2 separate regions of the Homo sapiens genome follow, and region 1 is linked to region 2. The links are contacts of gene promoters, found by promoter capture Hi-C in human tissues and cell types (Jung and others, 2019). All regions are on one chromosome and are shown on one strand. The core of a region is centred on a gene start or on the middle of the fragment in contact, and the rest is flanking DNA. Distances in the headings are between cores, read along the strand shown.

What was found. Contacts are between HindIII fragments. The study calls those that stand out against the background at their distance.
Region 1: a contact is called between a fragment that was not itself captured here and the fragment with the promoter of ZNF354B in region 2, in 1 of the 25 tissues and cell types used here (pancreas).

The regions. Positions count from the first base shown.
Region 1 is chr5:178,920,280-178,923,528 of GRCh38, forward strand. The region is part of intron 4 of ZFP2 (ZFP2 zinc finger protein); the gene reads left to right. It also overlaps the pseudogene PIGFP1. Among named protein-coding and RNA genes, the nearest start is that of ZNF454-DT, 19 kb to the right of the region's middle. The HindIII fragment of the contact is 5,302 bases long and covers 1-3,249 here.
Region 2 is chr5:178,858,273-178,861,433 of GRCh38, forward strand. ZNF354B (zinc finger protein 354B) reads left to right here and starts at 1,681. Exons shown (of 5, transcript NM_058230.3): 1 at 1,681-1,855; 2 at 2,725-2,808. The coding sequence starts at 2,776. RefSeq lists enhancers at 1,531-2,263, 1,548-1,747 and silencers at 1,888-2,087, 2,168-2,247. The HindIII fragment of the contact is 12,564 bases long and covers 1-3,161 here.

The sequences.
Region 1 (3,249 bases), core at 120-2,619, 62 kb after region 2:
CTGCTGTTGGACCTATTTAGCAAGATTTCTATTTTCTATATCAATAAATAAGTGTTTATATATTAAAAATACTGTAGGGCTAGGTGTGGTGGCTCACACCTGTAATCCCAGCACTTTGAGAGGCCAAGGCTGGTGGGTCACGAGGTTAGGATTTCAAGACCAGCCTGGCCAACATAGTGAAACCCCGTCTTTCCTAAAAATACAAAAATTAGCCGGGCATGGTGGCGTGTACCTGTAGTCCCAGCTACTCAGGAGGCTGAGGCAGGAGAATCGCTTGAACCCGGGAGGTAGAGGTTGCAGTGAGTCGAGATCGCGCCACTGCACTCCAGCTTGGGCAACAGAGTGAGACTTCGTCTCAAAAAAAAAAAAAAAATTGTATATTTTTCACTTCCAGAATTTCCACTTAGTTCTTTTTATATGCTCATTTTCTTTGCTGAGATTTTATTTCCATTTCTTTAGAGTGTGTTCACTCTGACTTGTTGGAACAAGTAAGGCAGATGCTTTAAAGTCCTTGTAAGATAATTGTATCATCTCACTTGATGTCTGTTGGTTATCTTTTCCCATGTAAGTTGAAATGTTCCTGGGTCTTTATATTCTCAGTGACTTCAAAAGGTATCATGGGCATTTAGAATATTATGTTATAAAACTCTATGTCTTCTTGAAATCCAACAGAAAATGTTGATATTTCTGTGTTAGCAGGCAGTCAACCTGGTTGAGCTCAGACTACAAAGTCCAACCAGCTTTCTGTGGGTTGTGGTTTCTGTGTCAGTTTGGTTGTCAGAGACTTCACATTGTTGCTTGAATCTTGCTCACATGTGTGTCACTCTGTGGCCAGTATGGAATTTAAGCAGCGGTCCCTCTTATTCTCAAAGTCCACGTGTGCTGCTTAGGGGGTCAGATTCATGCATATGTATCTCGCAGGTGAGCCCAGGAGTTCTTAAATAACTTCCAAGGTCATGTTCCCGAATTCTCCCCTGTCTATGTCCGCAGTAGTTTCAGCTTCCCTGTGGCTGTCCTTTTGACTCTTCTGGCTACAAGGCAGGGGCCTGTAGTTGCCCCGCTCTGCTGTGACTTCCAGTGACCATCCCTATGTAGAGCCAAGCAGCAGGAGGACAAAGAAAAGATGATGAAGTGGGGCTTCTTGCTACCCTTCTTGGGACCACAGATCCCTTGCTTGGGGAAGAAGGACCCTCTCCTCATGTTTTTGAGCTCCTGTCAGCTTGCAGTGGCACTGCTGTTGCAGCAGCCACCAGAGGATTGCTTAAGTGCTGGGGTGCAATAGAACAGAGAAAGGGGAAAAAATAGGCAATTCCCCCTGCTCTCTCTAAGCATTAGAAGTCCTTTTCCTGCTCCATGAACCGGCCCTAGAGCTTTTCCTGGAGAACCTCCTCTGCCTTCTCCTGCCTCAGTGCCTGTTTTCAGATGGCTGTATAAGTTTAGTACAGAAGACAGCTGAGGAAAAAAAGGAAGCTCACCACTGGTTCAGTGGTACTTTGGATTTTGGTTCTCTTCCCCAATTCACCTGCTACTGTTTACTTCTCAGGGCCTTCAAATAATTGCTTCATGCTTTCTGTTCGGGTTTATCAGTGGAAGAGACATGGTGGAATAGGCCTACTCCACCTTATCAGGAAGAGGATCCTCTACTTTGGTTTTAATTTGATCTTTGTCTAACTTCTTAAGGTGGAAACATAGGTCACAGATTATGGGCCATTCTTATTTACTGTAAAAACATTTAAAGCTCCTTCCGCAGGCAGGAGAGTCAGCTAGCCACCCAAGAAAACATCATGAAAGATACCGATATCAAGAGACTACTGTATACCCATCTTTTATGCATATTTTCAATTATCCTAAGTGTCTTCATTCCATCACTCTTCTTGGAGAACTCCTCAATATTGGAAACACACTTGACATGGTTGTGCGTCTGTTCTGGTTTTGTAACTGCTGTCAGTCTAGTACTATATTTAGTAGTGAAACCAAATACATCCTCTAAAATAAGTTCATTATCATACAAGGTAACCAGATTTTTGAAATGCTGTATCTACTTTCTTATGTCTTGTTTCTCCTTTCATGTAATTTTTGTTCTATATGGAGCACCACTAATAGAGTTGGCATTGGAAACATTTTTATTTGCAGTTATTTTGTCTACTTTTACTATTGTGCCTTACTTATGTTTGTTAGGACCAAACCTCAAAGCATGGCTAAGAGTTTTCAGTAGAAATGGAGTTACATCCATATGGGAGAATAGTCTCCAGATCACTGCAATGTCTAGTTTTGTAGGAGCATGGCTTGGAGCACGTCCTATTCCTTGACAGGGCAAGAGCATGGCAGGTATGGCCCATCTCCTGTACGCTTGGAGCGACCTTTGTCCACGTGGCTGGCCTTGTTATTTCACCACTCTGGATATACTGGAATAGAAAGCAACTTACATACAAGAACAATTAACTGGAGCAAAGGGAGATATTTCTTTGTGCAGATTCTGTAAGGGCTGTGCAGAAATGTGTGTGGTCAAAGCCAAGCAGTTCCATTTACAGCACTGTTTTTTATGTAGTTACAACATGATGTGATTGTAGCTTTTTAAACTATGAAACCCCTGAGAGATTGTACCTTCTAGTTGAAATAAAGTATTTATAATAGAAAAAAAAATATTGAAAGCTATATAATTTCCTCTAAGCATTGCTTTGGTTGTAACACATAAAATATTATCTCATTCCATTGTGATTTCCTCTTTGACCTCTCAGAATTTACAAATTCACTGCTTAATTTTCAAACATGAGGATTTCCCAGATAGTTGAAATGTAATTCTTTAGGTGTCTTTTTTTAATTGTAATGTTTTGTGTTTGTGTGTATATGTGTACAATATACGTAACATAAAATTTGCCATTTTAGCCATTTTTAGTGTATCATTTGGAGGCATTTAAATACATTCACATTGTTGTGGAACCAGCACCGCCATCCGTCTCCAGAACTTTTTCATCTTTCCTAATGAAAACTCTATATCCTTTAAGCAATAGCATCCCATTCCCCGCTTCCGCCAGCCCCTGGTAACCTCCGCTTTCTGCCTCTATGAATTTGACTACTCTAGATACCTCATATGAGTTGAATCATGCAATATTTGTCTTTTCGTGACTGGCTTATTTCACTTAGCATAATATCTTCGAGGTTCATCCTTGAAGTGGATTCAGCATGTCACTGCCAGTCTTTTTATACCCAAACTAACTTCCCCATTCATGTTTATTTTTTATTCAAATT
Region 2 (3,161 bases), core at 431-2,930:
TGGGCAAGCAACCATGGAAGGACACCTGCAGTTCATGGCAACAGGGTGGGCGTGGCTCTACAAGTAAGGGACAGTTGTGCCATATGGAATTACCTATATGGGAAGATTGGTAATTAACACACAGGGAAATCACCATGCTACTTTCTTCTATGATTTTGACTATTTTAGATTCTACGTGTAAATGAAATAATGCAGTATTTGTATTTCTGTGCCTTCTTTATTTCACTTAACATAATGTCCTCCGGGTTCATCCATATTGTCACATATGTCAGGATTTCTTTATTTTTTTAAGGCAGAATAATATTCCTTTGTGTATATAAACACATTGTGGCCGGGCTCGGTGGCTCACGCCTGTAATCCGAGCACTTTGGGAGGCCGAGGAGGGTGGATCACGAGGTCAGAAGTTCAAGACCAGCCTGGTGAAGATGGTGAAACCCCATCTCTATTAAAACTACAAAAATTAGCTGGGCGTGGTCGCGGGTGCCTGTAATCCCTGCTACTTGGGAGACTGAGGCAGAGAACTGCTTGAACCTGGAAGGCGGAGGTGGCAGTGAGCCAAGATTGCGCCATTGCACTCCAGCCTGGGTGACAGAGCAAGACACCGTCCCAAACAAACAAACAAACAAAACATTTCCTTTATCTATTCATCCATCAACAGATAGTTGTTTCCATATCTTGGCCATGGTGAATAATGTTGCAGCTAACATGGGAGTGCAGGTATCTCACGGAGTTTCACTTCCTCTGGATCTATAGCCAGAAATGGGATTGGTGGATCCTAATGTAGCTCTAGTTATAATTTTTTGAGGAACCTCTATACCGTTTTCTGTAATGATTGTACCAATTTACATCCTTTTGATAGTGGCCATCCTAATGGAGGTGCAGTGATTTCTCATTGAGTTTGGGTTTATATTTCTCTTATACCTAGAGATGTTTACCATCTTTTTATATGCTTGTTGCTCATTGCTCATTTGTATATCTTCATTGGAGAATTGCCTATTCAAGTCCTTTGTCCATTTTAAAATCAGGTTATTTGGTTTTGTTATTGTTGTTGAGTTGTAAAAGTTCCATATAAATCCAGGATACATTGCAAATCAGATATATGATATGTAAGCATTTTCGTCTATTCTGTAGATTGCCTTTGTTTCCTTTGATTAGCCAAAGTTTTTAAGTTTGATGTAGTCCCATTTGTCTATTTTTGCTGTTATCTGTGCTTCTGATGTCATATTCAAGAAATCATTGCCATCTCCAACATCCTGAAGTTTTTTCCCTTTTTACTTTAGTAATTTATAAAATAATTTGGTCTCACATTTAGGTTTTTAATCAATTTTGAGTTAATTTTTATGTATGGTGTACGGTCAGGGTACAGGCTCATCTTTTGCACGTGGAAATCCAGCTTTGTCAACATCTTTTGCAGGGGATTTTCCTTTCCCAATTGTGTAGTAGTTGTTTTCGTGCCGCCCACGCCATCCTGAAATTCACACACAGAGTTGCAAGTTACTGCCCTCCGGGAACCTCCCCTTCTCTTCCGAAGAACCAGGAACCCGGGGCTCTACAGCTCACCCGGGCCCTCTCATAGGTCTGGGCGCCTAACAGCTCAGCTGCGACCTCGCCTCAAACGCGTGGAACTACACTTCCCAGAAAGCCAGCGTCCTCCCGTGGACTCCATTTCCTAGAGGCCTTAGCGGCCGCCTTGCTCCTCTAGGTCCCAGGCGCTCTGCGGAGCTTTCGCTGCCCGGTGAGCGGCGCCGGGCTTGAGGTCGCCCAGACGTCGGAGGAGCCGGGTCACGAGGCTGGAGCTTCCTGCTTGCAGAGTGCGGCGGGGAGGCGCGGCCCGGGAACGCGGGATCCTGGGGAGGTGAGCGGCATGGCTGGCTGTGCCGGGAGGAGGCGGCGCCTGGCGCCAGGGCGACCTGAGGCCGCGGGGCTCCGAGGGCCTCTGTGGGCGCGGGGGGGCACCCCCGCGTCTGTCACCGGCCCCCGCGCCAGGACTTGGACTCTCGCCCCTCACGGGCCGCTCCGGTGCCGCTGCCGACGCCCCTGCCTCTGGCTCGCGCCGCCCGCCGTGAACGCGGGGCCAGGCGTTTCCTCCCGGGCCCACCCTGCGCGCGCCGTGTGGGCCTCGCGGACTCGGGGCGCCGGGACCCCGAGCGCAGGGCAGAGGCAGCCGGGCCCGGTTTCTGAGTCAGTCCCCAGGACGGCCACTCCTCCTGCCTCGGGACACCCAGCGCTTTCCTCTTCAAAGCCGTTTTCCGTGGAGTCGGGAGACGATTCGTTGGCGGGAGAGAGAGGAACCGGCTGGGAAAGGCTTGAGGCGGAGGGAAGTCGTCCCGGGGCCGTCGTGGTGGGAGTCCCGGCCCGCCTCGCAGCGGCGTGAACGGGGCAGGTGCCCCGGCGCTGCCTCAGTTTCCTGAGCGGTGCAGTGGGTGCTGGCAGTGCCAGCTGGCGCCGAGGAACTCAGCGGCGTGGGGCGAGCCCTGGCCCTGGTGGGCTCAGCGGGTCGCTGCTGCCACTGCGGGTCCAGCGTCCCCTCCGTAAGCCCCAAGCCTGTGGGGCCTGGGCCTGGCCGGGCGGCCCAGCGCTGCTCTGGTCCGCGGGCTCCTGGCTCCTCCCGAATCCCTGTGAGGGCGCGCGGGGTCCTTCTCAGCGGGAGTCGGGGTTTTAGAGCTGCGGATTCCAGGGCTGGAAAGCAGAAGGGGTTCTTCCTGGCTCCCTTTTTCTTCTCAGATCTGCCTTCTGGAGACTGCGCCGTCCTCCCGGGAGAGCCAGAAAGAGGACATGGCTGCTGGGCAGCGGGAAGCGAGGCCCCAGGTGAGCTCATTGCCCTCCCAGATCCCAGTGGATGGATTTTCCCCACTAACTGGAGTTCTTCACCCGGGACCATCTCCAGCCAGGATGGAGCCCAAGTCCTTTTCTCTTGGAGGAGCTGGTCCGCCCTCATGACTGGTGGATTCTGTAGGGAGGACCACCCACCCTCCCCACCCGTGTCTAGTGGTTTTTAATTAACAGTTTGTTCACGAATCTTCATCCATTGTGTGACTAGTTTGACAAGTAAGATACCACAAGTCTGTCTGTCACTAAGAGCAAACGTACACACGTGGGAAAAATCCCTGCCTCCTCCACTCACCCATGTCTCCGTTCCTGTCCTTCGCAGGAATACTTTC